7 separate regions of the Homo sapiens genome follow, and regions 1, 3, 4, 5, 6 and 7 are each linked to region 2. Evidence: promoter capture Hi-C in human tissues and cell types (Jung and others, 2019). All regions are on one chromosome and are shown on one strand. The core of a region is centred on a gene start or on the middle of the fragment in contact, and the rest is flanking DNA. Distances in the headings are between cores, read along the strand shown. Region 1 overlaps NTNG2 (netrin G2). Region 2 holds the start of RAPGEF1 (Rap guanine nucleotide exchange factor 1). Region 3 has its middle 86 kb from the start of NTNG2. Region 4 overlaps LOC105376299 (a long non-coding RNA gene). Region 5 holds the start of LOC105376302 (a long non-coding RNA gene). Region 6 has its middle 23 kb from the start of FAM78A. Region 7 has its middle 10 kb from the start of NTNG2.

What was found. The method cuts DNA at HindIII sites, captures the fragments that hold promoters and counts their contacts. A contact is called where the count stands out against the background at its distance.
Region 1: a contact is called between a fragment that was not itself captured here and the fragment with the promoter of RAPGEF1 in region 2, in 3 of the 25 tissues and cell types used here (lymphoblastoid cells, spleen and stomach).
Region 3: a fragment that was not itself captured here is called in contact with the fragment with the promoter of RAPGEF1 in region 2 in 5 of the 25 tissues and cell types used here (dorsolateral prefrontal cortex, heart right ventricle, lymphoblastoid cells and 2 more).
Region 4: a fragment that was not itself captured here is called in contact with the fragment with the promoter of RAPGEF1 in region 2 in 1 of the 25 tissues and cell types used here (spleen).
Region 5: a contact is called between a fragment that was not itself captured here and the fragment with the promoter of RAPGEF1 in region 2, in 2 of the 25 tissues and cell types used here (IMR-90 fibroblasts and dorsolateral prefrontal cortex).
Region 6: a contact is called between a fragment that was not itself captured here and the fragment with the promoter of RAPGEF1 in region 2, in 3 of the 25 tissues and cell types used here (adrenal gland, dorsolateral prefrontal cortex and spleen).
Region 7: a contact is called between a fragment that was not itself captured here and the fragment with the promoter of RAPGEF1 in region 2, in 3 of the 25 tissues and cell types used here (adrenal gland, dorsolateral prefrontal cortex and lymphoblastoid cells).

Annotation. Positions count from the first base shown.
Region 1 is chr9:132,171,155-132,175,120 of GRCh38, forward strand. The region is part of intron 2 of NTNG2 (netrin G2); the gene reads left to right. Among named protein-coding and RNA genes, the nearest start is that of NTNG2, 11 kb to the left of the region's middle. The HindIII fragment of the contact is 9,420 bases long and covers 1-3,966 here.
Region 2 is chr9:131,738,360-131,742,199 of GRCh38, forward strand. RAPGEF1 (Rap guanine nucleotide exchange factor 1) reads right to left here and starts at 1,717. Exons shown (of 27, transcript NM_001377935.1): 1 at 1,411-1,717. The coding sequence starts at 1,471. RefSeq lists silencers at 1,101-1,430, 1,481-1,530, 1,681-1,940. The HindIII fragment of the contact is 28,094 bases long and covers 1-3,840 here.
Region 3 is chr9:132,245,839-132,249,814 of GRCh38, forward strand. No RefSeq gene overlaps it. Among named protein-coding and RNA genes, the nearest start is that of NTNG2, 86 kb to the left of the region's middle. RefSeq lists an enhancer at 1-193. The HindIII fragment of the contact is 5,962 bases long and covers 1-3,976 here.
Region 4 is chr9:131,337,674-131,341,798 of GRCh38, forward strand. All of the region lies in intron 1 of LOC105376299 (a long non-coding RNA gene), which reads left to right. Among named protein-coding and RNA genes, the nearest start is that of PLPP7, 50 kb to the left of the region's middle. The HindIII fragment of the contact is 6,560 bases long and covers 1-4,125 here.
Region 5 is chr9:132,099,675-132,103,524 of GRCh38, forward strand. LOC105376302 (a long non-coding RNA gene) reads left to right here and starts at 3,546. Exons shown (of 3, transcript XR_930403.1): 1 at 3,546-3,633. The HindIII fragment of the contact is 3,203 bases long and covers 48-3,250 here.
Region 6 is chr9:131,251,250-131,255,258 of GRCh38, forward strand. No RefSeq gene overlaps it. Among named protein-coding and RNA genes, the nearest start is that of FAM78A, 23 kb to the right of the region's middle. RefSeq lists a silencer at 1,365-1,681 and enhancers at 1,388-1,437, 2,633-3,134. The HindIII fragment of the contact is 9,598 bases long and covers 1-4,009 here.
Region 7 is chr9:132,149,903-132,153,728 of GRCh38, forward strand. No RefSeq gene overlaps it. Among named protein-coding and RNA genes, the nearest start is that of NTNG2, 10 kb to the right of the region's middle. The HindIII fragment of the contact is 3,649 bases long and covers 1-3,181 here.

The DNA of each region.
Region 1 (3,966 bases), core at 1,370-3,869, 430 kb after region 2:
AGCACTACCTCCTGACAAGAGCTACAGGCCTAGAATCTGAAGCCCTGAGCTCACATCCCAGTGTTGTCACTTGGGGGCTGGGTGGTCTGAGGTGAGTCATTCAAATTCTCCAAGCCTCAGTTTCCCTATCTGTAAAAGGGGTATGATCTTCACTGCCTTGCCCACCTCACCGACTTCCTGGGAGAGGAAACGCCTCTCACAACATAACAGAAGGTGCTTGGCAGAGACTGTAAGTTCTTTTCTAGTGTGAGGCTTGAATATTATTGTTTATCCAATCTTGATAAGCTTGACATTTCTACATTGACATGGGTGAACATTCAAATTTCAGCCATGTTGGAGTCTCCAGCATACAGAGGCACCTTGGCTTTGGTGGACAGGAAAGCCAAGGGCAGGCTGTGAACGTGCATCTTTGAACACACATCTTACTCAGTTAGAACCTGCTTTAGCTTCTCTGTGCCTCAGTTTACCCAGCTGCAGAGCAAATGGTTCCATTCCTCCCCCAGGGGGTCTGCTGGGCTGTTGAATGCAGACAGCAGGCAGGTCCTGGAGTCCTTGAGCCACTCCTCACTGTGACATTGAACACCACATGCAGAATCAAGGTCACAGACACTCTGCCTCCTGCCAGACCTTGAGGATCATGAAATGTTTCCATCCAACAATGCAGAGCTGACCGGCCCGATGGCTCTGGCCTCCTTCCCCCTCTGTGTTTCTGGCCCCAGCCTCCCTCCTCTCGCCGTCACAACCCTCCAGTCGGCAGATGTTTCCAGGTATGACCTCATGCCAGGCACAGTTGTGATGGGAAAGTGAGATGACTAGAGATAAATTAAGTGAAAAACAAGAGAAAAACACTACAGACATTGAAGACAATACCCAGCTAACCACAAATGGTGACACCGGGGCCTGATATGATAGGAGCTGGGGAAGGAGGAGGGCGTGCCCCTCCCCATGAACTCTCCGGGCGCTCCAGCCTTGGCCCGTGCTGTCTCCTCCACCCGAATGCCTGCCCCCTCCTTCCTTTCTTTTCAAGGCTTCCGCTTCTACCTGGATAACCCTGGCTCCTTTTTCAAGGTTCAGGTTGGACCCTACCTCCTCCTCCAGGAGGCCTTCTCTGACTCCTTTGCCCAGTGGGGTGAGGAGGCCCTCATTTGGTCATCATCCTGCTTACTGACTGGCCTATCAGTGAAGAGTTCTGGCCCTAGGAATGGAGAGTTTAGAATCCCGTGCTGTGTGATCTCTGATGTGAGACCTAACCTCTCTGAACCTTAGTTTCTCAATGGGAGCTATTAATAGAACGTGCATAGGAGACTGTCATGAGCACGGTGCTTGGCACATAGTAGTTGCTCACTGCGTGCTGGCTGTTGGGACCAATTCTGTAACTTTAGATGTCTGCTTTTCCCCTGGACTGTGAGCTCCTCAAAGGCAGGGCTGTCTCGCTATCTTTGCATCCCCAGCACCTCCCTCTGGACTTGATCAGTGCCCAGTAAGCATTTCCTGAATGAATGGATGCATGGGAGGAAGCATGGTGTGATCCAGGAACGCTTCTCAGAGGAGGCAGGATCAGGGCTGTATTTTTTTTTTTTTTTTTTTTTTTTGGAGTCAAAGTCTCGCTCTGTCGCCCAGGCTGGAGTGCAGCGGCGCAATCTCGGCTCGCTGCAAGCTCTGCCTCCTGGGTTCACGCCATTCTCCTGCCTCAGCCTCCCCAGTAGCTGGGACTACAGGCACCTGCCACCACGCCAGGCTAATTTTTTGTATTTTTAGTAGAGACGGGGTTTCACTGTGTTAGCCAGGATGGTCTCGATCTCCTGACCTCGTGATCCACCCACCTCAGCCTCCCAAAGTGCTGGGATTACAGGAGTGAGCCACTGCACTTGGCCAGGGCTGAGTCTTGAAGGAAAAACTGGGGTTTGGGTCAGGACAGAGGAGACCCTGGAAGCCCCTGCTTCTCTCCACTGCAGTCCCTGTTCTGTGGGATTTGCGATTGGATGAAGCCGGGAGGTTTGCACAACTCTGTCCTTAAGTCAGTTGCAAGTGACTTCGGCACCTGAGCTGCACCAGCCGTTAAAGCCACTCAGTCTCTTGAAATGCCCGAGGCAGGGCCCAGCCTAGGACAAGAATAGTTCTGTGAAATGACATCTTGTTGCACAGTGAAGTCTCCCTCCTGGGCAGTAGACAATGAGAAGACCGAGGCCCGGGGCCCAGGGAGTGAGACCCTTGCTTCTGACTTCCCTTGAGGGAATGAGGTTGGGTCCAGACACCCCGTGGAAGGCAGGCAGCTGTGTGAAAGGGCCCAGATGGGACATCTTTCCAAAGAATGTCAGAGACTTAGAGACCCCCAGACCTTTCCGGTCTGCGCATCCCCACCTTCCCAGGCTGTCTTCCTCTATGCTTCCTAACTCTGATGTTTAATCCATTTCCCTTTTTCTCATTTACTGTGGGTATAATGACAAGCTGCCTCCAATCCCACCTGCGATGGGGCAGGCAGTGGATGGATGGACAGACGAACGGACAGACAGGCAGGCCGCACCATGCTGCGGATGAGACGGATGGATGGACAGACGGACAGACAGGCAGGAGCACCATGCTGCGGATGAGATGGATGGACGGACGAACGGAGAGGCAGGCAGGTCGAACCATACTGCGGATGAGACGGACGGACGGACAGACAGGCAGGCCACACCATGCTGCGGATGAGATGGATGGATGGACAGACGGACAGACAGGCAGGCCGCACCATGCTGCGGATGAGATGGACGGACGGACGGACAGATGGACAGACAGGCAGGAGCACCATGCTGCGGATGAGATGGATGGACAGACGAACAGACAGGCAGGCAGGTCGAACCATGCTACGGATGAGACGGACGGATGGACGGACAGGCAGGCAGGCCACACCATGCTGCGGATGAGATGGACAGACGGACAGACGGACAGATAGGCAGGCCGCACCATGCTGCGGATGAGATGGACAGACGGACAGATAGGCAGGCCGCACCATGCTGCGGATGAGACGGACGGACGGACAGGCAGGTCGAACCATGCTGCAGATTAGACGGACAGATGGACGGACGGACAGACAGGCAGGCCGCACCATGCTGTGGATGAGATGGATGGATGGACAGACGGACAGACAGGCAGGCCGCACCATGCTGCGGATGAGACGGACGGACGGACGGACAGACAGACAGGTCGAACCATGCTGCAGATTAGACGGACAGATGGACGGACGGACAGACAGGCAGGCCGCACCATGCTGCGGATGAGAACTTGGGCTTCTGGAGGGAGGAGATGGGGCCCGGGGGCATCCCGCACTTCTGGGATGTGGGACTTGGGATAAGTCCCTTGTGACCCTGAGCCTTGGTTTTCTCATCTGAAACTGGGCATGGCGCTGGACACAACCTCGAAGGACGTGTGTACAAATAAGACGAGACCAGGCGTGTGATGACCTCAGCTGGGAGCCAGCACAAAAGGAATGCTCAAAAAAAGGGCCGGGTGCACGGTGGCTCAAGCCTGTAATCCCAGCTCTGTGAGAGGCTGAGGTGGGCGGATCACCTGAGGTCAGGAGTTCAAGAACAGCCTGGCCAACATGGGGAAACCCCGTCTCTACTAAAAATACAAAAATTAGCCGGGTGTGGTGGCGCGCGCCTGTAATCCCAGCTACTTGGGAGTCTGAGGCAAGAGAATCACTTGAACCTGGGAGGTGGGGTTTGTAGTGAACTGAGATCGTCCCACTGCACTCCAGCCTGGGCGACAGAGCAAGACTCTGTCTCAAAAAAAAAAAGTGTATTTTTATTTTTATCCTTTTTAATTCTAGAATTTAGCTTGAGGGACAGAAGAGGACCCCATAGGCCAAACCCACAGCCAGAGGCACAGGCTGTGGGCTCAGAAGTGGGTCTTGCAGGATGGGAAGGGTCAGGAGAGTGAGGATGTGGGCAGAAGGAATGGTTCGTGCAGAGACGCAGGGAAGGG
Region 2 (3,840 bases), core at 467-2,966:
TTCCTGAGAAATGCTGCACAGATGAACCCAAGTTATTTCTGGAGCAGCAGGTGTACAGGATGGCGACTCATGGTCACTCGGCAAGGCTGTGGGGGCTCAAATTCAGTGAGAAAAATACTCAAGAAATGGCACCTGAACCCAAGCGCCCTGCCCCTGAGAAAAGCACCCTGGCTTCTGGTCAGAGGGCCAGGAATGAATATACTAGGGGCCTGCCGCCCTCTTGCTGTCTGGACAGCCGGAACTCACTGAACCTCTCTGAGCCTGTAAAACTGGGACCATATTCTTTCCCACAGACTAGCTTCAAAAATTTAAGAAGCAATGCATTTTAGGTGCTAAGAGTTAGATATATAGTAAACCCTCAATAAAGCCTACAAAAATGTCCTTCTGTGCTTCAACCACAGCCTGCAAAAGTCATATTGCCTTGTGGGTCCGCTGCAGGGGTGCACCCCACAGAAGTATCCCAGATTCAACCCAGGAAACATAAGCAACTTCCACAATCAAAGCCACAGACCTCCTTTGCAGCTCCCTAAAAATCTGCTTTCCCTCATTCAGCCGCCAAGCTAACCTGCTACCGGGGTTATGACCACAGGGCATGCTCCCAGTACAGGAGCCCAGGAGCACCCGCCCACTTCACCTTAGACCCAAGAATTCGCATTTGCCCTGCAAGGTGCTGCAGGCTAATAAAGCCTGGGGCCCCACAGGCTCGACAGTCATTGAATCTTTGGAGACTCTATTTCCAGGACAGGCAAACCCAGGGACTCGGAAGGTAACTCCCCCAGATTTCTAGGAACACACAAAGAGACGAGGTCTGCATCAAGATTTACCATCTACTCCAACCCACCGGTCCCCCACCTGCCCTCCTTGCAGAGCTGAGCTTGATCGGGGTGGGGAGGGGAAACTTGACTACCTCCTCAAAATACCCCCACTCATCCAGCCTGCTTCCTTTGAAGCAACCGAAGTGGACGCTTCTCGTTAAACTCGAAGCTCGTTAGAAATGACACATTTTACAGCTCAGCTGGGTTCACCCTCCTAGCGCCGAGCCCAGGCCGGGCACCGATCGCTGCAGCCGCAGCAGCACGCGGCCCGGGCTGTTCTTCCCCTGCTTGGGGCTCGAGCCATTTTCGGAAGTTCCCGGGGACCGCGGAGCGGCTAGCGCGCCCGGCCCCGGGTTGCAGGGGCCCCGCCCGGCCCGGCCCCTGGCGCCCCCGCAGCGGCCGCTTCCCCCCGCGCCCGGCAGGCAATGGGCCTGGAGGAGAAGCTGCCAGGCGCCCCGGCGAGGCCTCGGTGGCTTCACCCCGCCCCGGCGCACGGAGGGCCGCACATCCCGGGCGACCCGCGCTCGGCCCGGGGAGCGGCGGAGCCCCAGGGCCGGGCCCGGCCGGAGGGAGCCGCCCCACGCCCGCGCCTCACCTGCTTTCTCGATCTTGCCGGACATTTCCGGGCTGCGCCGGAGGCCGAGGCCGCCGCTCATCGGGCCCGGGCCGGGCCGCCGCGGGGCGACAGGGGCGGCGCGCCCGCCGCTCGCCTCGGCCCTGGCTCGCCACGCCTCAGACCCGCGCCGGCATGGCGGGCTCCGCGCGGCCGCGGCCCTGCGCTCGGCGACCGCGCTCCAGCCCGCCCGGGCCCAGCCGCTCCCGCCGCGCCCGCCGCCGCCGCTCCGCCTCCCGCGCGCCCGCCGCCGCTCCCCCGGCCCGCGAGCCGGCCGCAGCGCAGCGACGCCGCCCGCCCGCCCGCCGGGCCTCGGCCGCGGCCACGGCCACAGCGCCACCTGCCGGGCGCCCGCCGCGCCGCCACAGCGCCCCCTGTGGGCCCGGAGCCGCCCGAGCCTCCCGCGCGACGCGCGAGACGCAGCGCCCCCTGCCGAGCCGGAGTCCCCACGCCGGGGCCTGGGGCCTGGGGTGTGGGGCCGACCCCGCCTGGGACTCCGCATTCCTCTGCTGTGGGACCAGAGTCACCAGCTCCAGACCTGGGACTGACAGCTCCAACCCAGGGTCCTCGGTTGCCCAAGAGCCTGGCCTGCCCCCTCACCAGAGACACAGAGAACCCTCCTGGGTCAGATTTTCCACCCCAGGACGTGGAACTGACGCCCACCCCACCCTAGCATCATCCCGGACCCAGCATCCCCTGTGGGCCAGAGGCTCCACACCAGGGCCTAGAACTCACTCTCACCAGGACTCAACAAGCTCTGCTGGCTGGGAGCCTGTCCTGACCTCCCCCAAACCAGAGATGCAGCACCCCCTTTTTTGTTTTGTTTTTTGTTTTTGAGACCGAGTCTCACTTTGTCGCCAGGCTGGAGAGCAGTGGCGCGATCTCGACTCACTGCAACCTCTGCCTGCCGGGTTCAAGCAATTCTCCTGCCTCAGCCTCCTGAGTAGCTGGGATTACAGGCACATGCCACCATGCCCAGCTAATTTTTGTATTTTTAGTAGAAACGGGGTTTCGCCATGTTGGCCAGGCTGGTCTCGATCTTCTGACCTCATGATCCACCCACCTTGGCCTCCCAAAGTGCTGGGATTACAGGTGTGAACCACTGCACCCTGCCCGCACCCCCTTCTTAATTGGAGACCCCACACCAGGGCCTGGGAGTGGCCTCATAGCACCTCCTGCCAGCCCAGAGGCTCCAGCCGGGGAATGAGTCCACTCTGGCATGAAAGCCCTCTGCTGGCCCAAGGTCTATGCCAAGGCGGAGGATTCATTCTCCACCCCAGCCCTGCATGTGGGACTCAGTCACCCTGCCAGCGAGAGCCACCTGTCCCGGGCTGGGGTTGGCCCTACTCAGGCCTAAATGTCCCCTGAGGCCTAGAGCCTCCATGCTGGCCTGGGCCCAACTCCCTCAGGGACACAGCACACCCTGCCTGCCCTGCTTATTTGACATCCAGAAGGGCACCCTGGGGCTCAGCTGTGGAACTTTTCTAGTGTGGAAATGAGTTCATTAAAAGTCGTGGCTGGGCACGGTGGCTCACGCCTGTAATCCCAGCACTTTGGGAGGCCGAGGCAGGTGGATCACGAGGTCAAGAGATTGAGACCATCCTGGCCAACATGGTGAAACCCCATCTCTACTAAAAATACAAAAATTAGGTGGGCATGGTGGCACACGCCTGTAGTCCCAGCTACTTGGGAGGCTGAGGCAGGAGAATCTCTTGAACCCAGGACATGGAGGTTGCAGTGAACCGAGATCATGCCACTGTACTCCAGCCTGGTGGCTCCAGAGCGAGACTCCGTCTCAAAAAAAAAAAAAAAGTCGTGGTTGGGCACAGTGGCTCACGGCTGCAATCACAGCACTTTGGGAGGCTGAGGTGGGTGGATGACTTGAGCCCAGGGGTTCGAGACCAGCCTGGGCAATGTGTGAAACTCCGTCTCTACTAAAAATACAAAAATTAGCCAGGCACGGCGGCACCTGCCTGTAGTCCCAGTTACTTGAGAGGCTGATGAGGGAGAATCACTTGAGCCCTGGAGGCAGAGGTTTCAGGGAGTCATGATTGCACCACTGCACTCCAGCCTGAGTGACAGAGGAAGACCCTGGCTAAAAAAAAAAAAAAAAAAAAGGAAAAAAAAAGTCATTTAAGAATCAAAGGATCTGCTAAGTCTAAGCACTATTTCGGGTTCTGTGGGCCCTACAAAAGTGGGCACAATTGGTGCTTCCCTCCAAAGAGTTCACAACTTAGCTGGGAAGTCAAAGTTAAATCCTATAATACAAGTAGTAAATAACAACAAATTAGTAACGCAAGTGATGTTCCAATGTGGGGCAATTCTGCTGCCTGCTTCCTGTTGTTAGTCTAAGATGGAATACAAAGAAGTAGCACGCACCACCTGGGCTAGTTTTCCCTCCTGTTTCCCCCA
Region 3 (3,976 bases), core at 795-3,294, 510 kb after region 2:
AAAGGATGGTCATGCCCATTTTACAGAGGGTAAGTGAAGGCTGGGAGAGGCAAAGTCACTTGCCTGGGGTCACAGTTTCTAAGAAGCAGAGAGGAGAGTTGAACCCAGGGCTGCCTGACTCCAGAGCCCAGTGTTTCACCCCCAGGCCAGGCAGCCCTGGGCAGGCATTGGGCATCCACTCCCCGGCGGGCGGCTGCAGCTGCCCCCCCACCTCCATGCCTCCAGCTGCCTGCCTCCTTTGGCGCCCACAGCCAGGTCAGGCTGAGCAAGGAACCCTGGGGAGCCCAGCTTCCTCTGAACCGCTCTGCTGTCAGGGGAAACGCCTCCCCTGGCCCTCTGCGGCAGCATGGCCTGTCCCCTGCCCCCACCCACTCCCCTAAATAAGCAGAATTGCTGCGTCGGCATTTCCTGCCCAGCTCATGCCTTACAGTTACGAGGCATTTATGGGAGCTTGGGGAGCAGCCAGCAGCATCTCCCGGCAGACCTGAGCCCGCCTCCCTGTCTCCCCAGGGGCCTGGTCCATCCCGGCACATCCCAGCCAGAAGAGTTAAGGGAAAGGCCCCAGGAAGAAAAACATTACTTATTTATTTTTCCGTTTAAACCACCTGTCACAACTTGTAGGAAAGTTCGAAAATACAGAAAAGCAAAATCATAATAATTTTTCTATTAAACTCACCCACAATTCTTCATCCAGAGCTAATAACTGTTAATACTTTTTTTTTTTTTTTTTGAGACGGAGTCTCGCTCTGTTGCCCTGGCTGGAGTGCAGTGGCACGATCTCGGTTCACCGCAACCTCCACCTCCTGGGCTCAAACCATCATCCCACCTCAGCCTCTGGAGTAGGGGGAACTGCAGCTGTGCACCACCACGTCCAGCTAATTTTTCATATTTTTGGTAGAGGCGGAGTTTTACTATGTTTTCCAGGCTAGTCTCGAATCCCTGGGCTCAAGCCATCCTCACTCCTCAGCCTTCCAAAGTGCTAGGATTACAGGTGTGAGCCACCACGTCCAGCATAACTGTTAATGTTTTCTGATAGATATTTCTAGTGTTTTTCCATAAAATAAAACCCACACTCAGACATCGCCCCCCACCCCTGCAATTGCTAAGCCCTAGCACTGAGGCTGGACATGCCTTATTTCAAGGGTCCCTTCAGTGATGCTGAGCGTGGGATCAATTAATATAATATGGCCATCTTACAGCTCCACATACCAGGGCTCTGAAAGCGTCCTGGCCAGGGACCTTAGCCACAAGCACCGAAACAAAACACCAGGTGATTTAAGAGGCAGAGGAGATTAAAGGATCACAGACCCCTCAGACACATGTCAGGAGAACAAGGTAAGAGTAGGGAAAGTGGGCCACGCGGTGGCTCACACCTGTAATCCCAGCACTTTGGGAGGCCAAGGCAGGCAGATCACCTGAGGTCAGGAGTTCGAGACCAGCCTGGCCAACATGGCGAAACCCCGTCTCTACTGAAAATATAAAAATTAGCCAGGCGTGGTGGTGGGCACCTGTAATCCCAGATACCTGGGAGGCTGAGGCAGGAGAATCCGTTGAACCTGGGAGGTGGAGGTTACAGTGAGCCGAGATCGCGCCACTGCACTCCAATCTGGGCAACAAAGCAAGACTCCGTCTCAAAAAAATAATAATAATAAAAATAAAAACTAGCTGGGTGTGGTGGCAGATGCCTATAGTCCCCCCCCCAACTTGGGAGGCTGAGGCAGGAGAATCCCTTGAACCCAGGAGACGGAGGTTGCAGTGAGCCGAGATCACGCCGCTGTACTCCAGCCCGGGCAAAGAGCAAGACTCCGTCTCAAAAAAACAAACAGCTGGGCTCAGTGGCTCATGCCTCTAATCCCAGCACTTTGGGAGGCTGAGGTGGGTGGATCACCTGAGGTCAGGAGTTCGAGACCAGCCTGACCAACATAGAGAAACCCCGTTTCTGCTAAAAATACAAAATTAGCTGGGCATGGTGGTGCATGCCTGTAATCCCAGCTACTCAGGAAGCTGAGGCAGGAGAATCGCTTGAACCTGGGAGGCAGAGGTTGCAGTGAGCTGAGATTGTGCCACTGCACTCCAGCCTGGGCAACAAGAGCAAAACTCCATCTCAAAAACAAACAAAAAAACAAAAAAGAGGAGGTAAAGTGGAGTCAGGAAGGGCACCCAGTATCCCGCCCAGGGTGGCTGGAGAGCCAGAGCTTCAGATGCTGCCTTGGGCGCTGCCCTGGGCACATCCCTCACCCCCAGGGCTACCCCCTGCTGGCCTCCCCACCACAGCCCCCACCACGCACCCGCACCCTCCAGTCCAGCATTTGCCACTCCAGCAAGGGGGGGTGGGCTCTGTTTCCTCAACCAGAGGAAGAAAACAAAGAAAGAATGTCCACCACGGAGCGGGTGTGTAAGTTGCCCGGGGTCGCACAGCCAGGAAGAGCCAGAGGCCAGGATTCAAATGCACTCTCTTGGGCAGGCTGCACAGCCCTGCACCTTTTTTTATTTTATTTTTTCCCTTTATTTATTTATCTTATTTATTTTTAACAACAATGGCCTCATCGTATACACATCCTTCTTTAGCCTGCTATATAAAACTTAGCACTGTATCTAGACTATCAAAGGAGGCCTTTTAAAATAAAAGAGAGGCCGGGCGTGGTGGCTCACGCCCACAATCCCAGCACTTTGGGAGGCCGAGGTGGATGGATCTCCTGAGGTCAGGAGTTCGAGACCAACCTGGCCAACAAGGTGAAACCCCCTTCTCTACTAAAAATATAAAAAATAGCTGGGCGTGGCTGCAGGTGCCTGTAATCCCAGCTACTCAGGGGGCTGAGGCAGGAGAATCGCTTGAACTCAGGAGGCAGAGGTTGCAGTGAGCTGAGATCATGCCATTGCACTCCAGCCTAGGTGACAAGAGTGAGACTCCATCTCAAAAATAATAATAATAATAAAAGAAAAAAGAAATGCAAGGCCAGGCACAGTGGCTCATGCCTGTAATCCTAACACTTTGGGAGTCCAAGGCGGGCGCATCACTTGAGGTCAGGACTTCCAGACTAGCCTGGCCAACATGGCAAAACCCCGTCTCTACTAAAAATACAAAAATTAGCTGGGCGTGGTGGCAGGTGCCTGTAATCCCAGCTACTCGGGAGGCTGAGGCAGGAGAATCGCTTGAACCCGGGAGGCGGAGGTCGCAGTGAGCCTAGATCATGCCACTGCACTCCTCTGGGTGACAGAGGGAGACTCCGTCTCAAAAAAAAACAAAAAGAAATGCAAAGCCCCACCTTTCATTTTTTGCCCAGCCTCTCACCCTCTTCCCCTCCCAGCCTGGGCCGGCTGGCAGTGGGACTCTGGCTCCCAGGGCAGGGGGTTGCCATGTACCCTTCTGACACCTCAGGGTCTGGCCCAGTGCCTGTGCTCCTGGTGGCACAGGAGACCTTGCTGCCCCACAGGGGCGGCCAGGTGGAGGCACCTGCGGCCAAAGTGCTCCAGATGGCTTCCAGCCAGAGGCTCTCTCCCTGGATGATGGAGCAGGTGGCCCTTGGGACCCAGCCAGGAGTAGCTGGAGTGAGGCCCAGAGTCCTGGGAGCTCGTGCCTTTCACTGCTGACCCAGTGCCCGCATTTCTGCCCCTGAAGGGGAGGGCAGCTCCTCAGGCAGAAGGACGGTGAGCTCTGGAACCTGATTTGGGCTTGAAGCTGTACCCCACACCTGCCAACTATACATCCTTGGGCAAGTTCCTCAGTCTCTCTGTGCCTTGGCCATCTCATCTGTGAAATGGGGATGTTAAAAATAGCGCCTGCAGGGTGGGGCCGTTGTGAGGAGTGAATGAGTTGAGCCGCGCAGTGTTTAGAACAGGGCCTGGCACCAAGTCAGCCATCCCTAAGTGTCAGCTGCTGTGATTGCTTTGTTTCCTCTGTGCCCCCTCCCCAAAACCTGCTAGGAGGGTTCAGGCTCACTCACACCTCCTTTCTCACTCATCATATTCCTGAGCA
Region 4 (4,125 bases), core at 327-2,826, 400 kb before region 2:
GCCCGGTGCAGTGGCTCACGCCTGTAATCCCAACACTTTAGGAGGCTGAAGTGGGAGGAGCCCAGGAGTTTGAGATCAGCCTGAGCAACATAGGAAGACTCTGTCTCAATAACAACATAAAACTAGCCGGGTGTGGTGGCACCACATGCCATGGTCCCAGACACTCCGAAGGCTGAGGCAGGAGGATCACTTCAGCCCAGAAGTTTGAGGCTGCAGTGAGCTAGGATCACACCACTGCACTCCAGCCTGGGCCACAGAGTAAGACTCCATCTCAAAAATATGAAATTAAAATCAAAAGGAGGGGGGCAGGCGTATTGGCTCATGCCTGTAATCCCAGCACTTTGGGAGGCCAAGGCAAGTGGATCACTTGAGGTCAGGAGTTCGAGACCAGCCTGGCCAACATGGTGAAATCTCGTCTCTACTAAAAATATAAAAATTCGCCAGGCATGGTGGTGCATGCCTATAATCCCAGCTACTTGGGAAGCTGAGGCAGAAGAATCACTTGAACCTGGGAGGCAGAGGTTGCAGTGAGCCAAGATCATGCCCCTGCACTCTAGCTTGGGCAACAGAGCAAGACTCTGTCTCAAAATAAATAAATAAATAAAAAATAGAAAGGAGAAATGGCCACACAGAGAAGACATGCAGAAGGAAAGAGGGAAAGCAACATTAACACGCAGAGAGAAGGCCGGGCGCAGTGGCTCACGCCTGTAATCCCAGCACTTTGGGAGGCTGAGATGGGTGGATCACCTGAGCCCAGGAGTTCGAGCCCAGCCTGGACAACATGGTGAAACTCCATCTCTACTAAATACAAAAATTAGCCAGGCATGGTGGTGAATGCCTGTAATCCCAGCTACTTGGGAGGCTGAGGCAGGAGAATTGCTTGAACCTGGGAGGCGGAGGTTACAGTGAGCTGTGATTGCACAACTGCACTCCAGCCTGGGTGACAGAGCTCTGTCTCAAAAAAAAAAAAAAAGACACAGGGAGAAGACAGGCTGTGAAGAGGGAGGACAGGAGTGACTCCGCCACACTCCAAGGAACACTGGAGGCTGCTGGAGGCTGGAGAGAGGCCTGGGCAGAAGGATTCCCAGCACCTTCAGACGCAGCGTGGCCGAGGCTGCAGAGAGGCCTGGGAGGGAGGATTCCCAGCACCTTCAGACACAGCGTGGCCCTTTCCACCCCCTCACTTTGGACCTCAAGCCTCCAGAAATTTGGGGCAGAACATTTCTGTGTTCTAAGCCACCAGTTTGTGACATTTTGTTACCGTAGCCCTGAGAAACTACGCCACAGCTCTTCCAGTGTGCCAAAGACAGGAAGGCTACCCCCAAATTCATAAGTTCATGTTGATATTTCTTTCTTTTTTTAACACTTTATTTATTTATTTATTTTTATTTTATTTTTTAAATTATACTTTAAGTTCTAGGGTACACGTGCACAACATGCAGGTTTGTTACATGTGTATGCATGTGGCATGTTGGTTTGCTGCACCCATTAACTCATCATTTACATTAGGTATTTCTCCTAATGCTATCTCTCCCCCCTCCCCCCACCCCACAACAGGCCCCAGTGTGTGATGTTTCCCATCCTGCGTCCAAGTGTTCTCATTGTTCACTTCCCACCTGTGAGTGAGAACATGCAGTGTTTGGTTTTCTGTCCTTGCGATAGTTTGCTCAGAATGATGGTTTCCAGCTTCATCCATGTCCCTGCAAAGGACATGAACTCATCCTTTTTATGGCTGCATAGTATTCCATGATGTATACATGCCACATTTTCTTAATCCAGTCTATCACTGATGGACATTTGGGTTGGTTCCAAGTCTTGGCTATTGTGAATAGTGCCGCAATAAACATACGTGTGTATGTGTCTTTATATTAGCATGATTTATAATCCTTTGGGTGTATACCCAGTAATGGGATCGCTGGGTCAAATGGTATTTCTAGTTCTAGATCCTAGAGGAATCACCACACTGTCTTCCACAATGGTTGAACTAGTTTACACTCCCACCAACAGTGTAAAAGTGTTCCTATTTCTCCACATCCTCTCCAGCACCTGTTGTTTCCTGACTTTTTAATGATCACCATTCTAACTGGTGTGAGATGGTATCTCACTGTGGTTTTGATTTGCATTTCTCTGATGGCCAGTGATGATGAGCATCTTTTCATGTGTCTGTTGGCTGCATAAATGTCTTCTTTTGAGAAGTGGTTGTTCATATCCTTTGCCCACTTTTTGATGCGGTTGTTTGATTTTTTTTCTTGTAAATTTGTTTCTTTGTAGATTCTGGATATTAGCCCTTTGTCTGATGGGTAGATTGCAAAAATTTTCTCCCATTCTGTAGGTTCACTCTGATAGTAATTTCTTTTGCTGTGCAGAAGCTGTTTAGTTTAATTAGATCCCATTTGTCTATTTTGGCTTTTGTTGCCATTGCTTTTGGTGTTTTAGTCATGAAGTCCTTGCCCATGCCTATGTCCTGAATGGTATTGCCTAGGTTTTCTTCTAGGGTTTTTATGGTTTTAGGTCTAACATTTAAGTCTTTAATCCTTCTTGAATTAATTTTTGTATAAGGCATAAGGAAGGGATCCAGTTTCAGCTTTCTACATATGGCTAGACAGTTTTCCCAGCACCATTTATTAAATAGGGAATCCTTTCCCCATTTCTTGTTTTTGTCAGGTTTGTCAAAGATCAGATGGTTGTAGATGTGTGGTATTATTTCTGAGGGCTCTGTTCTGTTCCATTGGTCTATATCTCTGTTTTGGTACCAGTATCATGCTGTTTTGGTTACTGTAGCCTTGTAGTATGGTTCAAAGTCAGGTAGCATGATACCTTCAGCTTTGTTCTTTTTGCTTAGGATTGACTTGGCGATGCGGGCTCTTTTCTGGTTCCATATGAACTTTAAAGTAGTTGTTTCCAATTCTGTGAAGAAAGTCATTGGTAGCTTGACAGGGATGGCATTAAATCTATAAATTACCTTGGGCAGTATGGCCGTTTTCACCATATTGATTCTTCCTATCCATGAGCATGGAATGTTCTTCCATTTGTTTGTGTCCTCTTTTATTTCGTTGAGCAGTGGTTTGTAGTTCTCCTTGAAGAGGTCCTTCATATCCCTTATAAATTGGATTCCTAGGTATTTTATTCTCTTTGAAGCAATTGTGAATGGGAGTTCACTCATGATTTGGCTCTTGTTTGTCTGTTATTAGTGTACCGGAATGCTTGTGATTTTTGCACATTGATTTTGTATCCTGAGACTTTGCTGAAGTTGCTTATCAGCTTAAGGAGATTTTGGGCTGAGATGATGGGGTTTTCTAAATATACAATCAAGTCATCTGCAAAGAGGGAAAATTTGACTTCCTCTTTTCCTAACTGAATACCCTTTATTTCTTTCTCCTGCCTGATTGTCCTGGCCAGAACTTCCAACACTATGTTGAATAGGAGTGGTGAGAGAGGGCATCCCTGTCTTGTGCCAGTTTTCAAAGGGAATGCTTCCAGTTTTTGCCCATTCAGTATGATATTGGCTGTGGATTTGTCATAAATAGCTCTTATTATTTTTAGATACATCCCATCAATACCTAGTTTATTGAGAGTTTTTAGCATGAAAGGCTGTTGAATTTGTTGAAGGACTTTTCTGCATCTATTGAGATAATCATGTGGTTTTTGTCTTTGGTTCTGTTTATGTGATGGGTTACGTTTATTGATTTGTGTATGTTGAACCTGCCTTGCATCCTGGGGTGAAGCCAACTTGATCGTGGTGGATAAGCTTTTTGATGTGCTGCTGGATTTGGTTTGGCATATTTTATTGAGGATTTTCGCATCGATGTTCATCAGGGATATTGGTCTAAAATTCTCTTTTTTTGTTGTTTCTCTGCCAGGCTTTGGTATCAGGAGATGCTGGCCTCCTAAAATTAGTTAGGGAGGATTCCCTCTTTTTCTATTGATTGGAATAGTTTCAGAAGGAATGGTGCCAGCTCCTCTTTGTACCTCTGGTAGAATTTGGCTATGAATCCATCTGGTCCTGGACTTTTTTTGGTTGGTAGGCTATTAACCATTGCGTCAATTTCAGAGCCCGTTATTGGTCTATTCAGGGATTCAACTTCTCCTGGTTTAATCTTGGGAGGGTGTATGTGTCCAGGAATT
Region 5 (3,850 bases), core at 399-2,898, 360 kb after region 2:
ATAACGATGATGACACTATGGTTCTGGAACACTGCCCGTTCCCAAGGATCCCAAATCAACTTGACAAACCCTGTCGCTTCTAGCCCCCAGTCCAGCTATGCGCGGGACTTGTCACAGAAACCTCCGCCTCCGTGGGGGACCAGGCAGCTCCCCAAACAGCTGCAGGGTGGCCTAATTAAGATGCTCCTTCCTCCAGAATGTCAGGTCTCTGGGCAGAAGTCAGCAAAGGCTGGGGGCTGGGGACAGTCAGGGAGGCAGAGGCAGACAGTCTGGAGGGACATCTTTAGCTTAGTGGCTAAGCTCATGGGCTGAAGGCCCCACCAAACAACGCTGGGTGCAAATCCTGGCTCTACCCCTTCTAATCTATGCATCCTTAGAGAAGTGATGGGGCCTCATTTGTGTCTCAGTTCGTCACCTGTGAAATGAGTAATGGTTCCTACTTCCCAGGGTTGCTGTGAGGACTACCAGGGATAATCCCTTTGATTCATTTAGTCATTCACTCACCACATATTTATTAACATCCACACGACAAAGTGGTGAATAAAACAAACAAACCCATAATCCCAGGCCTCATAGAGCCTGTGGTCTAGTGGGTAGAGAGACATGAATGAATAAAAAACCCTGATGATTTAATCAGAATTGTGATGAGCACAATGAGGGAGAATTTGCAAAGTAAGGCCCACCCAGATCAGAAGGCTCCAGAAAGCTTCAGCAAAGAAGGAATGTAGACTGTGGTCCGGTGCCTGCCACACAGTAGGTGCCTGTTAGTTCCTGTATGCATTTCCTTTGGTTGCTGTCACAAATTGCTGCAAACTGAGTGACTTAAAATAACATATATAGATCGGGTGCAATGGCTCATGCCTGTAATACTGGCACTTTCGGAGGCCATGGCGGGCAGATTACCTGAGGTCAGGAGTTCAAGACCAGCCTGGCCAGCATGGCAAAACCCCGTCTCTACCAAAAACACAAAAATTAGCTGGGCATCTCACACCAGTTAGAATGGTGATCATTAAGTCAGGAAACAACAGATGCTGGAGAGGATGAGGAGAAATAGGAATGATTTTACACTGTTGGCGGGAGTGTAAACTAGTTCAACCATTGTGGAAGACAGTGTGGCGATTCCTCAAGGATCTAGAACTAGAAATACCATTTGACCCAGTGATCTCATTACTGGGTATATACCCAAAGGATTATAAATCATGCTACTATAAAAACACAGGCACACATATGTTTATTGCGGCACTGTTCACAATAGCAAAGACTTGGAATGAACCCAAATGTCCATCAATGCTAGACTGGATTAAGAAAATGTGGCACATATACACCATGGAATACTATGCAGCCATAAAAAAGGGTGAGTTCATGTCCTTTGCAGGGACATGGATGAAGCTGGAAACCATCATTCTGAGCAAACTATCACAAGGACAGAAAACCAAACACCACATGTTCTCACTCATAGGTGGGAAGTGAACAATAAGAACACTTGGACGCAGGGCTGGGAACATCACACACTGGGGCCTGTCATGGGGTGGGGGGCAGGGGGAGTGATAGCATTAGGAGAAATACCTAATGTAAATGACGAGTTAATGGGTGCAGCAAACCAACATGGCACATGTATACATATGTAACAAACCTGCACATTGTGCACATGTACCCTAGAACTTAAAGTATAATAATAGTAATAATAAATTAGCCAGGCATGGTGGCTCATGCCTGTAATCCCAGCCACTCAGGAGGCTGAGGCAGGAGAATCACTTGAACCCAGGAGGTTGCAGTGAGCTGAGGTCATGCCACTGCACTCCAGCCTGGGTGACAGAGCAAGACTCTGTCTCAAAAAATAATAATAATATTAATAATAACATTAATAGTATCTTGCAGTTCTGGAGGTCATAAGTCTGAAATGAGTCTAATTTGGCAAAGAGCAAGGTGTTGGCAGGGCTGGGTTCTTTTTTGGAGACTCAAAGCAAGAATCTGTTTCCTCGCCTTTACCAGCTTCTAGAGAATTCCTTGGCTTGTGGCCCCTTCCTCCACCTTCAAAGCACATCACTCCAACATCTGCTTTCATGGTCATATCTCCTTTTTCTGACTTTGACCCTCCTGATTTCCTCTTATAAGAATCCTTGCGGCCAGGAACAGTGGCCAACACCTGTAATCCCAGCACTTTGGAGGCTGAAGTAGTAGGATCACATGATGCCAGGAGTTCAAGAGAAGCCTGGGCAACATGACAAGACCCCGCCTCTGTAAAAAATTAAAAATTAGCCTGGTGTGGTGGCACTGGTGACCCCAACTACTCTGGAGTCTGAGGCTGCAGTGAGCTATGATTGCACTACTGCACTCCTGCTTGGTTGACAGAGCAAGACTTTGTCTCAAAAAAAAAAAATCCTTGCTGTTTGATTAAACCCAACTTAATCTCCTCATCTTAAGATCCTTAATGTAGTCACCTCTACCAAGTTCCTTTCACCTGTCAGGTAACATATTCACAGGTTCTGGGGATTAGGATGTGGAAATCTGTAGAGGGGCATTATTCTCTCTACAACAGTCCAGGAAGTTCAATATCCAAAATGAGGAATTCCAGGTCAAAAAAAAAAAAAGAGATAGAGAGAGAGAAAATAGAGGGGCAGAAGTTATCAAAGAAAAATAATACATGACAATTTCCCAAAACTTTAGGGCAAACATTTCCAGATTTAAAGAGCCTTCAGAGTGCCAGTGTAAAATCATGTCAAAAGCTTCCAAAGACAGAATGTCATACACAAAAGATCAAGGATCAGGCACTGGACTTTTTTTTTTTTTTTTTTGAGACGGAGTCTCGCTCTGTCGCCCAGGCTGGGGTACAGTGGTACAATCTCGGCTCACTGCAACCTCCGCCTCCCAAGTTCAAGCAATTCTCCTGTCTCAGCTTCCCAAGTAGCTAGGACTACAGGCATGCGCCACCGTGCCCGGCTAATTTTTATATTTTTAATAGAGACGGGGTTTTGCCTTGTTGGCCAGGCTGGTCTTGAACTCCTGACCTCAGGTGATCTGCCCACAGGCATTGGACTTTCTAACATCATCACTGGAAATTGGAAGAAGGCACAGGCCTTCATAATCTTGCGGAAAAATATTTCCAACCTAGAACTTATTGATAATCTTATTTTATTTTTAGAAAGAGGGCCTTGCTATGTTACCAAGGCTGGAATGCAGTGACTCTTCACAGGCACGACTGTAGTGCACTAGTCAGGCTTGAACTTCTGGCCTCAAGTTATCCTTCCACCATAGCCTCTCAAGTAGCTGGGACTAAAAGTATGCACCACCATGTCCAGCTGATAATTTTTTTTCTTTTAGAGATAGGGTCTCACTATGTTGCCCAGGCTGGTCTTGAACTCCTGGACTCAAGTTATCCTCCCACCTCAGCCTCTCAAAGTGCTGGGATTACAGGTGTGAGCCACTGCACTCAGCCTCCAGCTGATAATTTTATCAATCAAGTGTAAGTGTGGACTAAGTATGTTTCAGACATGCCTGGTCTCACTGAATTTTCCTTCCATGCATCTTTTCTCAAGAAGCTACTAGAGGACGTGCTCCATCAAAATGAGAGAGTAAACCAAGAAAGTGGAAAACAGAGAATCCAGGAAACAGGGGATGCAACAGAAGAGAGAGGTAAATGTTATTACAGAGGACCCAGACCACAGGTGTGCACAGGGCCCAGCACAGCAACCAGGCTGATTGCAGCCCAGGATAGAGGGCTTAAAGCAAGACACAGAACTAATAGGTTCTGAAGTTTTAATTATATTAACAAAAGCTTTAGAGTTGTGACAGAGATAAATTAGCAACTACATTGAAAATATAAAAACCCATCAAAATTACTAACTCTGAG
Region 6 (4,009 bases), core at 811-3,310, 490 kb before region 2:
CACCCGGCCGCACCTATGCTTTTGATGATGAGTCCAATGACAGTGATTGCGGTTAACACGGATCAAACCTTAGGCACTGGCTGCCCACCTCGGTCAGGCTGCAACCAGGAAGGAGGCAGCCCACCCTCCAAGGGACACGTGGTCCACATGAGCAGCTCGGCCAGGGGCCTTTCTTCCACCCACCTCATCTATCTGCCTCATTTATACCAAGTGGGCCCGGGACAGATGCCGGCCACGGCGCTGCACAGCCTCAAAGCATGTCCAGCAAGATGGCCTGTGGGGTGGGGGACCTCACCCCTTGTATTGTTTTGTCCTCTCAAAGTCTCAGCTAAAATTGGGGCAGCAAATAAAAGCTTTTTGGGCGGTGGGGGGTGGGGCAGGGATCGGGTCTCGCTGTGTGACCCAGGCTGGAGTGCAGTGGTGCAATCACAGCTCACTGCAGCCTTGAACTCCTGGGCTCAAGCAATCCTCCTGACTCAGCCTCCGGAGGAGCTGGGATTACAGGCATGCCCCATCACGCTGGGCTAATTTTTTCTATTTTTTGTAGAGATCAGGGTCTTACTATGTTGCCCAGGCTGGTCTCCACTCCTGGGCTCAAGTAATCCTCCTGCCTTGGCCTCCCAAAGTGGTGGGATTACAGGCATGAGCCGTGGCGCCCAGTCAAGAAAACCATTTTATCATCCTGTTACAACAAGGTCAATAATAGGTGTTAGCTATTGGCGGTTCTGTGCTGAGGGCCTTGCCTGATGACCCCCCGGAACCCTCCTCCCTGTGAGGAAAGCGTAACCCTGTCTTGCAGATGAGGAAACCGAGGCTCAGTGGTGCCGCCGAATCACTCGGATTTGCTAAGCGCTTACTCTGGGCTGGGCACTTGTCCAGAAGCTCAGGACCATCGGCTTCACGTGCCTCCGCAATCTCGTGAGGTGAGGAACCACCTCCGTCCCCACTCCATGTCCTAGGAAACCGAGACCTGAGAGGAGGGGGACTTGCTCAAGGTCACAGCCGTAGAGGCACCGCCCGCCCAGGAGGGCTCACATGACCCTCTCCGGCCTCCAGGCCCAGCTGCAAGAGGAAGCACCGTCCTGGGGAGCCCGGAGACCCAGGCCCCCCTCACAGGCGAGGGGCTGGCACGCGGCCTCTGGAGGAACTTCTGGCCTTCACCGTCTCCGCCTGGTCACTCGTCAATGGCCGGCTGCCTTCTGGAAAGCTGCTGCTGCGCGACAGTGACCCTGGGTGGAGTGAGGCATCCACGGGTGCTCGCTCCCAGAGATGGAGGCCGGAGCCCTGAGCAGAGGCGCCGGCTGTGCCCCGGTCCTCTGTGGCCCCCAGGGCTGCAGAGCTGGGCAGGTCGATTCCCTTGTCACTCCTAAAAGAACATTTGAAGCCCCCAGCAGGCTGGTGTGGGCACCCCAGTTCCTCAGCTACTCTGGGCTCTCCTTCCCCAGAGGCTGTGGGACCTGCCTTCCGGCCTCCGTCACATGACCGCACAGCGAGGAGGCGCTTCTGTGAACCAGGAGGTGGCCCTCACCACGCAGAAACTGTGGGCGCCTTCATCTTGGACTTCCAGCCTCCAGAACTGTGAAGGATTGGTTTCTGTGGTTGACGAGGCATCCGGTCTATGGTTACTTTATTCTAGAGCCCAACTGGGCCAAGGTGATTGTACGTATCTGTGAATATACTAAAACCATAGAACCGTACACTTTCTATTTGCTTTTATTTTGTGAGACAGGGACTCACTGTCGCCCAGCTGGAGTGCGGTGGCACGATCAGGGCTCGCTGCAGCCTCGACCTCCCACCTCATTCTCCTGAGTAGCTGGGATGACGAGAATGTGCCACCGCGCCCAGCTAATTTTTGTTGTTGTTGTTAGCTTTTTGAGATGGAGTCTCACTCTGTCACCCAGGCTGGAGTGCAGTGGCACAATCTCGGCTCACTGCAACCTCTGCCTCCCGGGTTCAAGCAATTCTCTGACTCAGCCTCCCGAGTAGCTGGGGTTACAGGCGCCCGCCATCACACTCAGCTAATTTTTGTATTTTTAGTAGAGACAGGGTTTCTCCCTCTTGGCCAAGCTGGTCTTGAACTCCTGACCTTGTGATCCACCTGCCTCAGCCTCCCAGAGTGCTGGGATTACAGGCATGAGCCACTGAGTCTGGCCTATGCCTGGCTAATTTTTAAGTTTTTTTGTAGAGATGGGGTCTCACTATGTTGCCCAGGCTGGTCTCAAACTCCTGAGCCCAAGATCCTCCCACTTCGGTCTCCCAGAGTGCTGGGATTACAGGCAGGAGCCACTGCACCGGCCAGAACCGTACACTTTTTTTTTTTTTTTTAAATGGAGTCTTTGTCACCCAGGCTGGAGTGCAGTGGTGCAATCTCACTGTAACCTCTACCTCTCAGGTTCAAGTGATTCACCTGCCTCAGCCTCCTGAGTAACTGGGATTACAGGCGTGTGCCACCATGCCCTGCTAATTTTTGTATTTTTTTCAGTAGAGACAGGAGTTCGCCATGTTGACCAGGCTGGTCTTGAACTCCTGACTTCAGGTGATCTGCCCGCCTTGGCCTCCCAAAGTGCTGGGATTACAGGCAGGAGCCACCACACCCAGCCAGAACCGTACTTTAAATAGGTGAGTTGTGTGGTATGTGAACTGTATCCCAATAAAGCTGAGGTAAAGCATTTTAATACGTTTGTGTGACTGTCTGACCAGCATTCAGTCTGCATTTGTCATGGATGCTGAGAATCCCACATCACTAAGCCAGGCCCCTGTGGTCTAGATGTTGCAGAAGAATTGAGCCGTATTTAGAGAGAAGAGTCCCTGGTCTCTGAGCTAAGCCCTGGTGCTCAGTGTGATTATTCTGGGGGCTCCATTTGCATGTTTAACACGGAGCACAACTGCTATGCCTTTGCTGGGCCCCGGACCGGGGAGGACAGGGTAAGTGTGCGTGTCTCTGGCCTGACGATTAGGAAACTCAGGCATGTGAGGTTGAGCGACAAGCCTGGCCTCACTCAGCAAGGCAAGTGGCAGCCAGGAATAGTGCAGGGCTCCCAGCTGTGTCTGGCCCGCCGTAAACACCCACCCTTCTTCTGTCTGATTGAAAAGGGAACATGAAATAAGAACCAGGGCTCAGGCTGATACAGGAACTAATCCTGCCTCTGCATTCCAAGTCGTGCCGTCTGGGCCTGAAGGGAGCTGGGCTGGCCTTCGCCAGTTCCCATGTTGATTTCGGGTTCACCTCCCTGCACACAGGCACAGAGATGGAGTTCATTCACTCCGACGTGTTCGCTTGCATTTAGTAGTTTCCATCGGCCGGGCGCAGTGGCTCAAGCCTGTAATCCCAGCACTTTGGGAGGCCGAGGCGGGCAGATCACTGAGGTCAGGAGTTCGAGACCAGCCTGGCCAACGTGGTGAAACCCCATCTCTACTAAAAATATAAAAATTAGCCGGGCGTGGCGTGGAGCGCCTGTAATCCCAGCTAGTCAGGAGGCTGAGGCAGAATTGCTTGAACCCGGGAGGCAGAAGTTGCAGTGAGCTGAGATTGCACCATTCCACTCCAGCCTAGGGGACAAGAGTGAAACTCCGTCTCAAAAAAAAAAAGTTTCCATCGTCCAGGGTCAACAGGGCTGCTAAGGACTCGGACTCAGCGTCATGCCGAGGAACCTTAGCAACAGGACAGCTGAGGGCAGTCTGGTAGAACTGGGGTACCAGAAGGCTGGGGTGTCATAGAAGGAGCTGAGACAAAGCACGGGGTCAAAGGCCGGGTGTTTGAAACCAGCCTAGCTCTGCATCTTCCCAGAAAAGTGACCTTTGGCAAGCCCCTTGGTCCCTTCTGTGGGGCAGCGTCCTCACTGATTGAAGGGGAAGAGCATACTTGAAGGGTCAGCAGTGGCAGGAAGGGGCCTGGACAGCACCGGAGTGGCTGGTTGTGCCCTGTGATCCTGATGGGCAATTTTTGGACTGTCACACAGTAAAATATTTGCTTTCATCCTATGCCCAGACCCCAACCAGGTGGGAAGCC
Region 7 (3,826 bases), core at 107-2,606, 410 kb after region 2:
CCCCAGCATCGGCTCCCTCTGACCCTCTGGCTGTCTGCCTCCTGACCCATCTGGGTTTCAGGAGGGTAGAACTATATCAGTCTTGTTCTGTCATTCTTCTGGATAAGGCACATGGAACGGCCCTGGTGGGTACTTATTAGATGAATAGACATCACTTTTTAACACCTACTCAGGCACAGCCCTTGGCATGACCGGCCTGTTTCATGCTGCATCATTGCTGTCTCTATTTCCTTTTTGTAGATAAGGGGACTTGGAGAGGTGAGATTGTTCGCATCGGGTTATACGGTGAGAGAGTTGTAGAGTGGGGATTGGAACTACTTCTTTCCCAAGATCTCATTCCCCCCATTCCCCCTTCTCCCAAAGCCAGACCTGCTTCCATCAGCACCTGCCACCTTCTCAACAGCCTGTGCCAGGTAGAGGTGAGGGAAGGAAGGGCAGGTGGGAAGGAGGGTAGAAGGAGAGGGCAGTCTGGAGTCAGGAATATCCGCGGCGCCCAGTCTTGGCGTCTTGTGATGCTGAAACTCAAGAGCCCCCTGACTCAGCAGGATATTAATAACCCCGGCCGGTCCTGGGAGGGCACCTCTGCCAGGGAGGAGAACAGCACGGCTGTGCGCCCTCCCTGCCGCCGGTGGCAGCTCACACTCTACTGTGCTCACCTTGCCTGGCTCCCCACACAGGGAGCTCCCTGGAAGCTCCTTGGAGCAGATGCTGCTCTGTATCTCCAGACCCTAACACAGAGCTTGGTGCACTGAAGGCACTCAATAAATAACTGTGGAGAGAATGAATGGATGGACGGATACATAAACAAAGCTTCAAATTTCCCAGAAACATCCCTCCCAGTTCCTCTCCCTACTTTATCATCCAGTTGCACATAATATGTGCTCAATGAACACAGGTTGGCCAGGCATGGTGGCTCATACCTGTAATTCCAGCACTTTGGGAGGCAGAGATAGGAGGATCACTTGAGCCCAGGAGTTCGAGACCAGCCTGGGCAACCTAGTGAGACCCCTGTCTCTACAAAAAATAAAAAAATAAAAAATTAGCCAGGCATGGTGGCACACATTTGTAGCCCCAGCTACATGGAAGGCTGAAGTGGGAGAACTGCCTGAACCTGGGAGGTAGAGGCATGTCCTCACCACTGCACTCTGGCCTGGGCAACAGAGTGAGATCCTGTCTCAAATAGTAGTAGTAATAATAATAATATTAATAATAATAATAAACACACAGGTTGCTTGCTTCATGTTTAACATTGCCCTCAATTGAACACATTTCTCAAGTACCGTGTGTGTCTGGTGTGGCCCTGGGCTGTCTATAGGGTGGGTAGAGACTCATCCTCATCCTCTAAAACAGGGAGAACATGGAGTCCAATGTGCCTCTCCCCCATCCAGACAGACATGACGAATCCATCGCCAGGCAGCCATGACTAGTCAATCACAGCACTCTGTCCTGATAACCTGGGATCCAGCTCAACACAGCCCCCTGGTCAACACTGATACTTGGAATTTTCCCCCTCTTCACCCTCTCTGCCAGCTGCACTTCTCCATCTGAGTCTGAGAGACCACAGACGAGGGCAGCCAGAGAAGAGCCCCCTCTTCCAGAAGCAGAAGCTACTCTCCTCTCTGGTTATAAAATGCAGAGTGGTGGGTGGGCTTAGCTGGGGGAAGGTTACTGGGGACAGTAAAGCATAGGCTCTATAGGACCAGAAGTTGCCTTCCTGCTCTGCTGTGGGAGGACCCCAAGGTGGCCCGACCCCAGTGACCTGGGCCCTGAGGGGGATGCTTGGGAGCGGGGTCTTCCTGAAAACACCCTAGGGAATCCCAAGGGCAGCAGAGAACCACATCACCCCAAACTCTGGGCTGCGGGCATGTGCACATGTGTGTTTGAGGTCAGCAGTGATTATCAGTATACTGAACAACCAGCAGGCCATGGGTGCCGCCCAAGGGGACAGGCAGGTGCCAGGTGAGCGCAGGAGTGAGACCTAGAGGTCCTGCTGCTGTGCCAGGCACTAGCCCAGGTAGCTGCTGGGTTTGGGGGAGGTCTAGCTATCTAGAGGTTCCCAAGGAAGGGTGCTGAGTGGCCTGGGAAGTGGGATGGGGAGACCCTCCAGGGGCCCAGAATAGTGGCTCTTTGCCGACAGTAAATGCATGAAGTATTTCAATGTTTCAACAAATGGGAGTGGTGGCCCTCGTGCAGACCAGCCGGACAGCAGCAGCCCCACATATGGATGCCTCATGCCAAGAGGTTCTTTCTGGAAACTGCCTGGTCATACCTGGTTAAGAGGTTCCAGCCTCACCCTTGGGCTCCCAAGGCCCTGCAGACACAGAGCAGTTGCTCGGTACATGTTTGGCCATTTAGCTGCAAAAGGAGAGTTTTTCCCAGTGTACCATAAGGCATTTCTGGAGCTCACATTGACAAAAATTAAAAATCAAAGCACAGACCAGAAGCTCAGGCCTGTCTACCCGGCCCGCCGCCTCTGTGTTCCCCAGTGGCCGCGCCGCTGGCTGCCCAGGGCGTCACCTGTGCCATGTGCATGGTGTGTTAATGTCAGGCTTCTAACAATCCTGTTCTTGACGCATGTCTCTCCTCTCCTTAGGGAGTTGTCATTGTGTTGATCGTTCAGGGAAACATTTGTACTGGGTGAGCTGAGACTCCTGTGTCAGGAGAGGACCTGGGAGGCCAGCAGCTTATCTGAAAATGTTAGCACTGGAAGCACCCTCAGGTGCCACCAGCTCAAACTCCTCCCTTGATGGATGAAGATCTTGAACCCCAGAAATGGAGTCAGGGACTCAGCTACAGTCCCAAAGCTTTCAGGGGACAGAATTGGGGCAAGAAATTCTGAGAAATGTGGGCGGGGAAGGGTCAAGGCACTGGCCGTGGGGTCACAGGCATGTGTTTGGATCCTGGTGTAGGACTTGGATCAAGTTGTTTCACCTTTCAGAGCCTCAGTTTCCCTATCTGTAAGGAGGGACAAGGAAGAGCCCCCGCTTCCAGGTCTGGCACATGTTCTGTTATGTGGGGCGCGAGTAGGGGTTTGGAAGAGAGAGGTGGTGCTTTTGGCTGCACAGTGAATGGGTGTTGTAAGCTGACCTCAGAGAATGAGTTCATTTGAACAGGAGTTCAGGGATATATCCCTCTATTTGACAGGAAAGTATATTTTCTTTGCCTTCTAATGTCGCCCTAGTTCACCATCTTATGAATTCAAAGCCAAAGGTGGCCTTTCCCCCTTTGAGGTGGGGTGAGCACTCCCTGTTGCTAGAGGCCCAAAGGCTGTGCTAGGTAAGGGGAGGCCCTTCTGCTCAGGCTGGGGACACTTTCCAGGGTCAAGGGTTCACCTGCTGCCGGCAGGCTGATCACATGTGGGGCTCCTACACCCCTCTGAGCACTCTGCACTCATCATTGCATTCTTAACTTCTCACGACAACCCTGAGAGGTGGTGCTGTTGTGCCCATTGTACAGATGGAAAATTGAGGTGAGAAGGCGTGCCCAAACACATAAGTGGCAGCACAGGGACTCTCAGCCCGGGCTGTCAGGTTCTGAGGCCAGGCTCATAAATGTCAAGCTTACCGCGAATGTGGCCAAAGACCATCATATAGGCCACTGGAGGACCATCCTGGGGCCGTCTCAGCATCCCCAGGTGACCACGCCACACGTGCTTGGCTCAGAGTCCCATCGGCCTCAAGGTGATCTCCAAAAGCAGTGAAAGAAGCTGGGGTCATCAGAACTACAGAGAGGGGTCCTGGAGGAGCCTCTGGGCAGGGCAGGGAAGGGAGTGGGCCAGATAACCACAGAACTGCGTCGTGCAGCCAAGTTGGACTCCAGAACCAGC